2 separate regions of the Homo sapiens genome follow, and region 2 is linked to region 1. Evidence: promoter capture Hi-C in human tissues and cell types (Jung and others, 2019). All regions are on one chromosome and are shown on one strand. Each heading gives the region's core, a stretch centred on a gene start or on the middle of the fragment in contact. The rest is flanking DNA. Distances are from core to core; before and after follow the strand shown.

Region 1 (6,600 bases), core at 2,044-4,543:
AGTATTAACTCTTCTCTCATTTCTCTTTGTACCTTCAACATAATGATCACTCACAATTATCCATTCATTTCTAAGTTAAGAGCCTTTGTAGAACCACTATGTTTTTCTTAAATACTCACTTTCCTCTTTAAATGTAGTCAATATATTATCAAAGCACTCAAGGTTAATCATAAAAAACCAAGCAATGTAAATCTTCAAAGGCTTACTTTGCACTTTACAAACTTCCAACTAGAGTTGAAAAGAATGCCATCATTGTACCTAACCTGCATTTACTTTAACAGTCTGACCACAAAGGTATTTCTTCTCTGGGCTGAAGGACCACTGAAGTTGTGCAAAACCCTTTTCGGTTACAATGAATTACCAAACATGTGAACGAAGAAGCACAAGACAGTAAACTTCTATCCGGGGAACGTCTATCCTAATAATAGAATTTTATTATGTACAGGTTTCCATAGTTGCCATGATTTCAAAATAGTACCAAAAATTACATGAAAAATATTTAAAAACAAGATAAACAAGGCTTCATTAGATTTCATAGTACAATGATGGTTTTACTGTTAAATGAAAACAATTCACCCTTTCCTAGGAAACATATCAGCAGTAAGATAAACAAAAAAATTAAAATTTATACCTCAATCTGCTTATATCAGTTCCCGCCGGGGTAACTTAAAAGCAGCATTAGCATTACGTTAATCACTTAACTATAGCTTCGGTTAAAAAAGGCATGTGTTTCAACCTTCATATTTTACAGACTAAGAGAACTCAGAGTAGTAAACTGACTTTCTCAGACTCACACAAATTGTATGCTAAGACCAGGTGCGGTGGCTCACGGCTGTAATCCCAGCACTTTGGGAGGCCAACTCAGGTGGATCTCTTGAGCCCAGGAGTTAAGAGACTAGCTTTGGCAATATGGTGAAACCCCTTCTCTACAAAACACAGAAAAAAAAAATTGGCCCGGCGTGGTGATGCAGGCTTCCAGTCCCAGCAACCCGGGAGGCTGAGGTAGGAGGATCGCTTGAGACAGGGAGATCAAGGCTGCAGTGAGCCGTGATCACGAGCTGCTGCACTCCAGAGCTGCTGCACTCCAGCCCCGGGCCATAGAGTGAGATCCTCTCAAAAAAAAAAAAAAATTGTATGCTAAGCCTAGACTCTTGACCACCCCCAAGCCCTACTCAGTGCCATTTCCACCGCTCCACACATTTCGCTTTGGATACATTAATTATATGTTATTTTCTTCCCAACATCCAAAATAATACTATTGATTTAATGCTTTATCTGTTTTCAAAAACAAATTTTTATAATCTGATTTAAGTATCTTTCCAAAATGCCTGAAGACATTTCATGATGCTGCACAAAAACCCAAGCAAGATTTCTAGCAACGAGGTACACTGATCGAATACATCGAAATATCAGTTATAATATTCCTGTTTCCAATTTCCACAACAGAGTTGGCTTTGAACTGAAACTTCCTAAGAAAAAACCATTTCCTTTATTCACACTTCCAAGTTACATTTTGAATATTTCAAATAGCTCGGCACAAAAATCTAAAGTAATAGCTAACACCGTAACAAGACTGAGAGAAAAAGTTCCTTTTTTAAATGTGTTGCAAAGTTTGCTCTCACATCCTGGTAACTGGAAACTGCAACGCTGGGTGACTGACCAGCCTTTTTTTTTATTATTTAAAAATTCAAACGGCTATAAAGGGCTTCTAATGTGCGTCTTATTTTTAAAAGGTAAGGTAAAAACCCTTTTAACCTAATAGTAGGATATATGTGTACAGTTTCGTAATTCTGTTAAAGTTTGCAGAATTAATCACAATTCATGTGTTAAATGTTTAAATAACATCTAAGTCATTAAAACCGCTTAAGTGCACCAAAAAAGGGCAATAACGTTTGCTCCGCTTTGTTTCCTTAAAGTCTCCATCCAACTGAAGCTAACTACTTGCTGTGGACAAAATGATCACATTCCTTCTGCCTCCCCCTAACATTTCTGGTAAGAGAAAGACCTGGCTCTAGGAATGTGTGTTTAATGCAACCCTGAGCTCACTTCATCCTTTCATGGGGCAAATGTGGAATAAATTACCAATGAAAAACTTTAGTAATTTTAAGATTTGTTTTACTTGAAGGTAGGGGTGTACCAACAGCTGCCAACACTTCTGTTGAAGTGTTGTAACCGAAGAGGTAAAAAGTGTACTGAGTAATCCACAAAATTGGGTAGAGCAAAGGATGCACGCCATGCTTATAAAGAGTTTAATTTTAAAATTTTTTAAATTAAACCTTCAAGGGAACTAGCATGTGAACGCCAAGGCATAATCTGTTATTTAATTACGGGTCTCCATAGGACCGAGGCGGAGAGAGCTCCCGGTAGAACCGACGCAACCATCCCGGGATGGTGACCAACGCGCGGCTGCTGCGGGCAGAGGGACTGAAGAGAACCGGTGGTCCCGACGCTGGCCCCGAGCCCGAGGAGTTAAACTAACAAAGAGCTCCCCGAGCCGCGAAACCCCCCAGAGCGGAAGCGACGCCTCCCCGCCGCCGCCGCCGCGCCGCGACCCTCCCCAAGTTCAGGGCCCGGCAGTGGACTCGCTGCGGGGCCTGCGGCCAGGACGGCGCCGGGTTCGCAGTCGGGATGCGGGAAACAGGTAGAGGCCAGAATACGAGCCCCAAAGAGAAGAGTGGGCGCTTCCCCAAACGGGTCGGCGCAGCGGAAAAGGCTAACTGAAGCAAGCGGGAGGCCCCGCACCGAGGCCCTGCTTCCCGGGGAGCAGCCAGGCACAGCGGACAGGGGGGCCGCGCTTTGTTACCGGCTGAGAGAAGCTCCGGCCGCCGCCGCCGCCATCGCCCCCGCCCCGGGGCGTCGCTTCCCGGCGGTTCTCGCCTTCCTCGGCCGAGTAGTCGATCTCCCCCTCCTCGGTCTTGAGACGCTTGGCCTGGCTCTCGTACTCCCGGTCCTCCTCGTACGTCTCCCTGGGGGAGGAAGAGGAGGAGGACATGGCGGCGGCCGGAGGGACCGGCTGGCAGGCGGGTGGGGGTGGCGGTGGGGCGCGCGCCTCGGATGCCGCCGGCCAGTCCTCGCCGCCGGCAGCGCCTCTTCTGCGAGGGTCTCCGCGGCCCGGCCGTCCGCGGGGACTGCGCGGCCAGGAGACTGGCGGCTGAGAAGCGCGGACGGACTGAGGGGGGCGCCCCGGGAGGAAGCTCTGGAGCGGCCGCTCCTCTCAATTACCGAGCCAACATTCAGCCTCTCCCTCCTCCTCCTCCGTCTCCGCTCCCTGCCCGGAGGAGCGAATCTAAGGATGGGGACGCAACCGTGGCTTCCGGTCTTCCCTCCTCCCCTAAGCCGCTCCCAGCCGCGCAGGCCGAGCCTCCGCCCCCGCCTTCGCGGCCGTCGCGCAGGATCGAATCCAGCCGCAGCCTGCGGGAAGCGCCCCCCCCGGCCCGGGTTCTGCTCCCTATTGGCAGGGGCGGGAAAGTCGACCGGGCTTCCCATTGGCTGTGAGGGCCGTTCGTCAAAAGCCGCCCGCTGCTCGACCTCACTTCTCTCCCCGCGCCTTCTGAACTCGCCGCGGTCCTGGGAGGCCCGGCGCGCAAGGCGCGCCGCCTGGGAGTAGTTGCGACCCGCAACCGTTGGCGCTATGCGGCTCCTACCCGAGGCCAGGCGTGGAGTGAACACGGACGAGCGACGAGAAGTGCGGAGAGGCTAGGGCTGCGGGTGTTAACCGCCCTGCCGCTAATTTAAATGCTTTTTATCACCTCTTAAAAAGAGAATGAGGAAAAAAACCTCTAAAATCCCTGCAGTCATACCCCCCGAAAAGCCCTAAAATTGCAGGCGATGAAGGGAGAAAACGGCTTGGAGCCATGAGAATGGTCTTTCCACTGTTTTGTGTGCAAAATCTGGTAGAAGTGGGCGGACCCTCCCGCCCCTAGCTGGGTGTTGGAGAACAGCTGTCAGCATTGACTGAAGGCTGCGAGGCGCGCGTCGGCAGGAGGCGCTGCACGCGGGCGCTCGTCGGTCTGATCGGTTATAACTCGTTTGTAACCTGGGCCCTTTACTGACTTGCCTGTCCCTGTAAGTCCCTGCTCCAGTTAAATATGTTTTAATCCTTCCATATAAAATCTCATCCTCCATCCCAATTCTTTCTCTTCTGGACAATGTATTTACTTCACTTGATCATTTATTGTCGAAAGATACAAAAGCCTTTCAAAGTTCTGTGATCACAGCTTGCTTCCTCTGTGGTGTCCTGAGGGCTTTTCCAAGATTTTAGTTGCTGCTCTCTTTTTGCAACAGGGCCCCTTATAACTCCCTCTTAAGATGTTCTGTTTTAAAAACTCTGTGAGCGCCTGAAGACAGGAACTGTGTGCAATTTTCATTTTCGCAAGCCCAGTTCCTGTGCGATCTCCAGCACAATTTAGGTGCTCAACAATGCTGAATGAGTAGTCCTTGGGAAATAAAGGTCCAGTGTATCTTTCAGGACAGAAACTGGCAAATCAAGGCAACCTAACTGCCCTCTGTCAGGTGCCTCTTGGAGGACTGCCTGAGATCAAGAGCCTCTTGTGTTTCTGTTGTCCTTGTCCCTCGGATGCTTTCCTAGATGTGGCTCTTCCTTTCCTAAGAGTGTAGATTGCTTCCTCCTCCAGCCTAGTTCTCTCCAAAGTTATTTCCTCCTCCAAAAAAGCTATTTTTATTTATTGCTGAGAGTGCTTTAACATAACACTTTTGTACTTTGTAAATTACACCGGCTGTCATTTTGGAATCTAATTGCAAGATTTTCCACACTATGCAGCTATAATCAAATGTGTGTGCGGCTGCAGGTATACATTGACAAAACAGAACTAAAAAAATTATAAATTTATTTTTTAAATTAAAATGGAAGTCGACAGAAGAAATAGCAAAAGAGTGGCAGAGCTGGCTGCGGATGAGAAAATGTCATTGGCAAAAAGCTCTGCAATGGTTTGGGAAAGTAAAATAGCAACAAGGGAAACAATGATACAATTCTGCTTAAAATATGTCCTATGGATTCATATGTCCCCTAACATATTCAGAATGCAGACATTACCTGGCCTTCAGAAAGCTGAAGATACCAAGGGTCAAAAAAAAGGTCTAACAAACCTACTTCACGTGTTATCTTTAGCATCCATTGTCCTTTTTATAGCAGTCTCAGTATCAAAGATCAGGAAAGGATGAGTGAATTAATAAACTTGATACAAAGGAAACTTCTTTGATGAGGTGAGATGGGCCATTCTCAAGATATTTTTAGTTTGCTCAAATTAAAAGAGAAGAGCTGAGAGCTTAAAACAATTATTTTTTAGGAGAAAGAAAACAATAGAATATTATGTGAAATAATTGAGTGTGATGAGAAGCACTAAATATCTTTTTGTTAAGTATGAGCAACTACCTGTTAATTTTGTTTTATGTACATTTTCATATGCTAGGTGAATTTAGTTTGGTAAATTCTATTCACTCACAACTGGATTTACTAGGCCTTATACAAACTTTCCAAATATTTCTTGTGAAGATGCAAATATTTTAAATTCTCAAAGCCCTGCATTCAACCTATGGATTATACCACATTACAATGCAACTGTCACACCAATGGGTAAGGAAATCCAGCCTTGCCAAACCTAGGGCTGCTGTGCTCAGCGTTCACAAACAGCAGGTGGAATTCAATATGTACCAGTATTAAACTTTGTTCTTTTTGTAAGTAGCCCAGTTGAGTAAAAAAAAAAATATTGAGGGAGTAAAACTTAGAAAGCATTTTTAAAGGACACCAATCAGTTCGTTAACCATGGGTGAAATGCGAGCTTGTTGCAGATGAGTTGTTCAGACAGTGACAGTAGGTCCTTTGATAAGGAAAATACTAGCTAGCTCATCACCAGGGCATGAGGAGCTAAAGAGAGAGGACATAAATTATACTCTACATTATTTCACTTAGGTGAGACAAAGAAATTACACACTGCCCAGTAGCCAGAAATACCTAAGAAAAGCAGAAACAGCTCCTAAATGCCATGACTGTCTGGAACCTCTCATGCATTACGGCCTCAGACCTTTGACTATTTTCTGAACATTTGATTGAATTCGCTGCTGTCAAGTAGGCAGCAGCCAAGAGCTCCCATTGCCACAGCTCAAAGGGGACTCCAGCTATACTGGAGTAGGAGACAGGCTTAGGGCAGGCCTAGGGAAATTGAGAGTCAAGGGCCTTTATAATCAATCCAGCCTCAAATTGCCCTTTAGTTTTAAATCTCGTTACTGATCTATAAAATTTATAAGACATTGTGCTAGGTGATGAGAGGACTACGTGAGCTGGTCCCTGCCCTCTCAAAGCTTGCAATCAAGTTGTGGAAACAAGGCTCATACCCAAGAGATAGGCTACAAGCATCCATATGTAATAATACATATACAATAATTAATAGCCACATTTAATGTGCCAGTCACTGTGCTAACCACTGAAAGGGTTTTGTCAATAAATTCTGACAGAAGCCTTCTACCAGAGGCATTATTATTACTCTTCCCAGTATACAATTAAAGAAACAGTCTAGGGGAGATTAAGAAACCTGCCTTAGGCTGGGCACAGAGGGAGGCAGAGGCACACAGATCACTTGAGCC
Region 2 (7,106 bases), core at 425-2,924, 550 kb before region 1:
TCCCTCTTGCCTAGATGATTTCATAGCCGTCCCCGCTTGATGATCCGCCTAGTTTCACTCCTTCCCTCTAAGCCATTGTCACATCTTGCAGTCAAAGTTGCCGTTCTAAAGCACTTGCCTGTTTTAATTCCTCCTGTGCAACCCACCCCAGGATCCTATGGGAAAAAAAAACAGACTCCTCAACCCAGCATGTAGCCTTTGCAGCCTGCCTCAACCTACCTCCCCAACCTCACCCTCACCCTATATACATAGCTGACCCATCTGTTAAAATGTCTTTGGCTCTTAGAACCAGAAATAGAAAATCCTTACTCAACTGTGTCCTATAAAGTAGGAAATTAGTTGTCTCACTTTGGAGGAAAATCAGAAGCGTAGGAAGCTCTAAGTTGGTTTACTTAATGGCTTGATGACCCCATCAAGGACAAGATCTTTGCATCTTTTCATACAGTCATTTTTGAAGTATCAGCTTGGTCCTCAGGTTAGCTCCCTTCATGACTACAAGATCACTGCAGGAGTCACATCCAGACACAATAGCATTCGACAGAGGAGGATGCACTGTCTCTTACTTGTGTGTGTGTCTTTTAAAGAACAAAGAAACCCTTCAAGCAGCCCTTCAATAGACCTTCCCCTTGCAACTCATCAGCTGGAATAGATTGCATGCCCCTGTCTATACCAATTACTGCAAGGGGAATAGGAATTTTATGATTGATTTAGGCTAGTCAGGATTTACTGTGAGTTGAGACAGAGTCATCTTCCCTGAAGACTGGATAACTGGAAAAAAATCAAGGTTCTGTTAACAAGTAGGGTGATGGATATTGGGTAGACATTAACAGTACCTGCCACACTCCCTCACCCTGACACACACACAAATACACACACACACTGCATGCAAACACATACGTGTGCTCCCCACCTCACCTGGATCATTGCCACCTCCAAGCACATCACATTCATTCAAACAGATATTTTATTACTGAGCACATAGGACGGGGCAGCACTGTGCCAGGCACCCGGGATCCAGTGGGGAGCAGGTCCTTTCATCACGGAGGGCGTTGTCCAGGATCCTCTCATCCTCCCTCCCTGATATTGTGTCTCTCTAGTCAACCCCTAAGCATCTAGGCCCAGCTCATAGGGCATCTCCTCTATGGAGCCTTTCCTAACCCTCATGTCCACACAGTCTCTAGGAGAATTACGTAGTTCTTAATCGTTGTTCCCAAAGCACTTCATACACCACTTACTACAACATCAATCACACTGTGTTGGGGCATGCCGGTGTGTCTCCTCAAACAGGAAATGAACACCTCTGCATCAGGGCATGTGTTTATTTTTATAACAGTTTTATCTTAGAATAGTATCTACTAGTGCTTAACAATGCTTAGAGACATAATAGATGCTGAATAAATGATGGCCTGGATGATCTGAATGTATATAAAACTATATTACACTTGATTTACTGTGCTCAGCATGTAAGAACATATAATAATTCTCCCAAACTTATTTCAGGGTGTCCCATGTGACTAGATAAGAGAATGAATTTTGTTTGATTAGGTGCATTCTTAGGCTATGTGTAAGAATTGTGAAATTATGACATACCCCTAAATGATATAAAATGATGGAGACCCAATTAGGAAGAAGAACTTAATTAAGCAAGGGTTTTAAGTCCTGAAATTATAAGCTTTTTTCAGTTTTGTTTTAGTTATGTTATTACACTGTGTGGGTCTGATTTTTTCCTTCCATTTAACTGCTGCATTCTCTAGTCTATGCTAAAATGCCTCCACTTGCAATATGGAATATTGCCTTTGTGAAAAATGCCTTTGACCTGTTTCTGCTTCCTAGTGCCTTATTTGGGGTCTTAGCTTTGTGGGTTCATGACTCTCTGTGAAGCAGCATCAACTGTCCAGGGCTCTAGCACAGTCCAGGGCCATTCAAAACAGAGGTGGAAATGATGTACATAGAAGTGATTTGTCAACCATAAAGTGCTTTAGAAACATGAAGAGGTTGTTACTATTACTAGTTGGTGCTGTGAGAAATAGATGGTGCAGACCAGGATTGGCAAACTTTTCCTGTAAGAGCCAGGTAGTAAATATTTCAGGCTTTGCAGGTGCCTTGTGGTCTTTGTTACAACTACCCAACTCTGCTGCTGTAGTACAAAAGCTGCCATAGGCATTACAGTCAAATGAGCATGGCTGTGCTCCAACATAACTTTATTTATGGATACTGAAATTTGAATTTCATAAAATGTTCATGTGTCATAAAATACTTTTCCTCTTTTGATTTCTTTCTACTATTTAAAAGTGTAAAAATAATGCATAGCTCACAAGCTATGGAAAATGGGTGGTGGACCAGATTTGGACCATGGGCCATAGTTTGCTGACCTCTGCTGTAAACCACAGGAGATTCATCTTACCAAGATGCTGGTAGCCAATGGAGCCTGATATAGAAACCACTTTATTTGATATGGTTTAGATCTATGTCCCCACTCAAATCTCATATTCAATAGTAATCCCCAGTGTTGGTGGTGGGGCATGGTAGGAGGTGATTGGATCAATGGGCAGAGTTCTCATGAATGGTTCAGTACCATCCCCCTTGGTACTGTATAGTGAGTGGATTCTCATGAGATCTGGTTGTTTAAAAGTATGTAGCACCTTCCCCCTCCCTCTTCCTTCTGATCCAGCCATGTAAGAAGTGCCTGTTTCCCCTTTGCCTTCTGCCACGATTGTCAGTTTCCTGAGGCCTCCCCAGAAGCAGAAGCTGCTGCTATACTTTCTGTACAGCCTGCAGAACCGTGAACCAATTAAACCTCTTTGCTTTATAAATTACCCAGTCTCAGGTATTTCTTCATAGGACTGTGAGAATAGACTAATACAGAGCCCATTGAGGCTATCTGAACAGTAGCAGAGTAACTACCCAGGAAAATGTCCGACTCATAATAGCAGCATTAGAAAGCCACCTTAACTCTTGGAAATTTAACCTTTTTTCTTTGGAAATAATTGTGCTCCTCACATGCCTTGTTCTTTTGACCTGAGTTTATTTTCTACTGGAGATGTTGACTTCTCTGCCTTTGGGAAAAACCCAGGTCAGTGTGAGTCAGCCCTGTGGGCTAGGGAAGGGGGTGAAGGAGCCCAGGGTGGAAAAATCTCAGGTATCTGAAAAATAGCATTCAATCTCTCATCATCCATTGACATAGCTCTTTAGGTCAAGCCTTCAAGCTTTGCCCTGCAGGAAGAAGCAGCATGAGGGGAAGACCCTCTTTGAACTTTAATTCCCAGCCTTGGAAGGGAAGGCTTGGAGAAGCAACGCCCCAGATTCTGTTAGCCCTCATCAGCTTTTCTCAGCTCTGCTCAGGCAGGGGACTTCAGGACCAGAAATTGTGTCTGCAGGTGTGGGGGCTGCTTGTCCCAAGGCAAAGGTGAAGGAGAAGCAAGAGCAGAACCCATAGAACATAAGGAACCATAGCTTTGAATTTCCTTGTTTGGAGTTAACTTTTCCACCAAAATATAACCTTATGTGGATCGTCTTCCTTACTTTTATCAAGGTGTTCGTTTTCTGTGTTTCAGAACTGAGGTTATGGGCAGTTTTCTGTTTCAGACCTACCTACTCTAAGAAGCTTTCTTTTATTTCCTATTGCGACCTGAGTTTATTTTCCACTGGAGATGTTGGCTCCTCTGCCTATGGGAAAAAGCCAGGTCATTGGAAAACGCAAATCTCTCCTTTCCTTGAAGCACATTATCTGAAACTACCTGAAAACTCTTGTGTATGTATCTTTATATTATATTTATGTTCACACTCACTTACTCGGAGGAGGGGCCCCTGAATCCTCCCTGAGTATTTCTCATGATTCTTATCATAGTGTTTTACCCAAAGTAGTAATAAATAGTTACCAATTGAATAAAAGTAAAACGTCCAATAAATTGAAATGGGTTCAATTATAGAAGCACTGTCCAATAGAACTTTCCGCTATGATGGAAGCGTTTTATATCTGTGCCTCTCACAACAGTAGCCACTATCCCCATGTGGCTTCCAAGCACCTGAAATAAGGCTGATGTGAATAAGGAATTGATTTTTTAATTTTTTTAATTTTAATTAATTTAAATTTAAATAGCCACATGTGACTAGTGGCTACTACATTGTACAGCACAGGTCAGTAGGACAATAAACAGCTGGCTTAACTAATTTCTTTTTGTGAGTAGATTATTTGGGCAGTGATCATACCATCAGAATTTAAAATATAATGCAAACCAGTGGTTGGATATTGTGTAGAAAATCCAGCAAGATGATTGGATATTCCACTTTCCAAGGAACATAAAAATGTCCACCCCTGTAGAGTTTATATCCTGGGAACTGGAGTGGGGACGGAGACAGACAGTAAATCATCATCAAAATGTAAAGGTTATTTTATGTTATATTAACAGGAAATAAATGTTTTATGTGTTGGGAGCGTAGGGAACAGAAAAAGTAGAGCAAGGTAGGCATGTCGAGGGAGCTTGTGGGGGCAGGCTAAGTATTAAATAATGTGGTCAGAGGAGGCTTCATTAGAGAGATGAGAGATGAACTCAAGCTAGACTGATGTAGGGACGTGGGCAAAGAAAATGAGAAAGGTGCTGACCTCTGCAGAGCCAAGGGCAGGTCTGTATGATGACCTAAACTCCCCTACACTCTGTTGCAAAGAAAATAAGCCCTGGCGGGGCACTGAAGAAGAAGGACAGGGTTTTGTGTGTGTGTGGTTTTTTGTTGTCGTTGGTTTTTTTTGTTTTTGTTTTTGTTTTTTTGTTTTTGAGACGGAGTCTCGCTCTGTCACCCAGGCTGGAGTGCAGTGACTCGATCTCGGCTCACTGCAACCTCCGCCTCTCAGGTTCAAATGATTTTCCTGCCTCAGCCTCCCGAGTAGCTGGGACTACAGGTGTGTGCCACGACGCCCAGCTATTTTATTTTATTTTATTTTATTTTATTTTATTTTATTTTATTTTATTTTATTTTATTTTTTTTAGTAGAGACAGGATTTCACTGTGTTACGCAGGATGGTCTCGATCTCCTGACCTCATGATCCGCCAGCCTTGGCCTCCCAAAGTGCTGGGATTACAGGCATGAGCCACCACACCCGACCATTTTGTTTTTTATTAACAAGGCCTTGATAGACGTTTCCAGAGCTATCTCTTGAAGTTAGAAATCAAAACAAGAGAGCAGGCAGGCTTGCCCATTTTTACAGCAATCATTCCTGGAAACCACATTGGAAAACACACAGTGAAAAGTTAACCTTATTCTTCCACCGCTTTGTCCAGCCTGTGTTTCCCCACTTTTTTCCTCAATATCAGTGCCAAGCTCTAGAATGCCAACTGGATTTGCTTGCGGGCTGTGGGAATTGCAGAATAAGAGTCTCAAATTTAAATACTGATTGCTGGGATGTGCAGTAAGAGAACAGAGGTGGCCCTTTGGCCTTCTGAATGTGAGCAGGGAGAGTGACAGGGGAGGTGCAGGAAAGACAAGCTCAGAGCATCCTGGGATTCACAAACATCCACCAGATCCAGTGGACACCAGCAGCTTTCAGTATTGTGGGTCTGGGAGCTGAGTGGTGCTCTCAAAGCTGATATGACCTGACTTGTGGGGTCCAATGGCCTAGATAATGGCCAAGGGCTGTGGGGTTAAACAATAAAGTTAGAGACAGCCAGGAAAGCATGCTGGGTACACAGCACAACACCAGGGGATGGGAGATCCCCCCAAACAGAACACGAGGCTGCCTGCTTTTCTCAGCAACCCCACTGGGATGAGGGTGGAAATCTTTTTCAATCAGATATAATAAAACTTTGACTCAAAGGCTAGACATAGTGTAGAAAATGTTCCAGGAGAAGTTCCATTAAGTGCTTAAAAGAATCAGTGTGGAGTCCTTTGGTGCACATAAAATTAAAGAATCATCAGGCCATTTTAAATTATATTTAAAGGCATTGTTGAAAAGTATGTTAGTTCCAAGAGCCTGTTTGTTCTCTGGTTATTCTTTAGGAACAAGTGAGTAGTCAGGGAAGCCTTCCTGAAGGAGGCAACACCAAGGAGTGGGCATTAAGGACAAGTGTCCTCTTACATCCTCCCCATGTGAAGGAAATGCAGGCACTGAGTTATCAGATTTGCTTCAGTGCTCCAAGGGGAAGATGATTGGAATGAGCTCAAGAGTCAATGGCAGGGAACGGTCTGGACCCACCAGTGCCATCGGCCAAGCCAGAAGCCAGTGCTGATTATGGGCCAATGTCATCTGCTGTGGAGTGCGCTGAGATTATTTTACTTCAGACTGCCCTGATTTTGTGACCATAAAAATCAATTTAATGAATTGCAACCCTCTTTTTTTTTTAAGGTAATTATACTATCTGGTAACTCAGTGCCTGTATTTTCTTCACATGGAGAGGATGTAAGAGGAAGCTTGTCCTTAATGCCCACCCCTTGGTGTTGCCTCCTTCAGGAAGGCTTCCCTGACTACTCATTCTAAACAGTGCCCCCTCACACACAGTACACACACACACACACACATACACACATATACCACTTATAATTAACTGAAATCTTATTTTCTCTCCTGCCACCCATCCCACTAGAATATCAGCTCCATGAGGTCAGGGCCTGGGTGCCTTGTTCATTATTATATCATCAGTGCCCCAAACAGTGTCTGCCTACTAATAGGTGCTCAATTAACACTTATGACATTGAATTAAAATTGCCTCGGCTGGGAGGTTCCAGCTGTTGCTCATCCCAAAGGCTGGTATTCTGCCTCCTGTTCTGCTCTGAGAATCTGGCACCACTTTACCTCTCCTGCAAGGACTTCAGCACAGGCCATGATCCTTGTTCACATCTCTAGGCCTGACCTTCTTTGTTCAGTGTTGCCATCTCGTTTCCTTGTCTGCCAGCAGCTGCCATGCTACCTGCCAATGTCAGTTCAGCTTCACTTAAGTTCATTTGCACCAATTCCCCTTTAACATTTTTTCCAATCACTTTTCATCACTTTTTGGTGTAGTTGTGTGAATTTTAACACATGTATACATCCATGTAACCACTGTCACAATCAGAAAACCTTCCAAAACTCCACCAGGCTATCCTTTTGTAGTACTCTCCCTCCCCTTTAACCCTCG

Evidence for each region. The method cuts DNA at HindIII sites, captures the fragments that hold promoters and counts their contacts. A contact is called where the count stands out against the background at its distance.
Region 2: a fragment that was not itself captured here is called in contact with the fragment with the promoter of HNRNPLL in region 1 in 1 of the 25 tissues and cell types used here (heart right ventricle).

Annotation. Positions count from the first base shown.
Region 1 is chr2:38,599,635-38,606,234 of GRCh38, forward strand. It overlaps HNRNPLL (heterogeneous nuclear ribonucleoprotein L like), which reads right to left and starts at 3,294. Exons shown (of 13, transcript NM_138394.4): 1 at 2,804-3,294. The coding sequence starts at 2,992. RefSeq lists silencers at 3,014-3,113, 3,134-3,183, 3,404-3,473. The HindIII fragment of the contact is 14,663 bases long and covers 1-6,600 here.
Region 2 is chr2:38,055,144-38,062,249 of GRCh38, forward strand. It overlaps a transcript of RMDN2 not described here. Among named protein-coding and RNA genes, the nearest start is that of CYP1B1, 17 kb to the right of the region's middle. The HindIII fragment of the contact is 3,461 bases long and covers 1-3,405 here.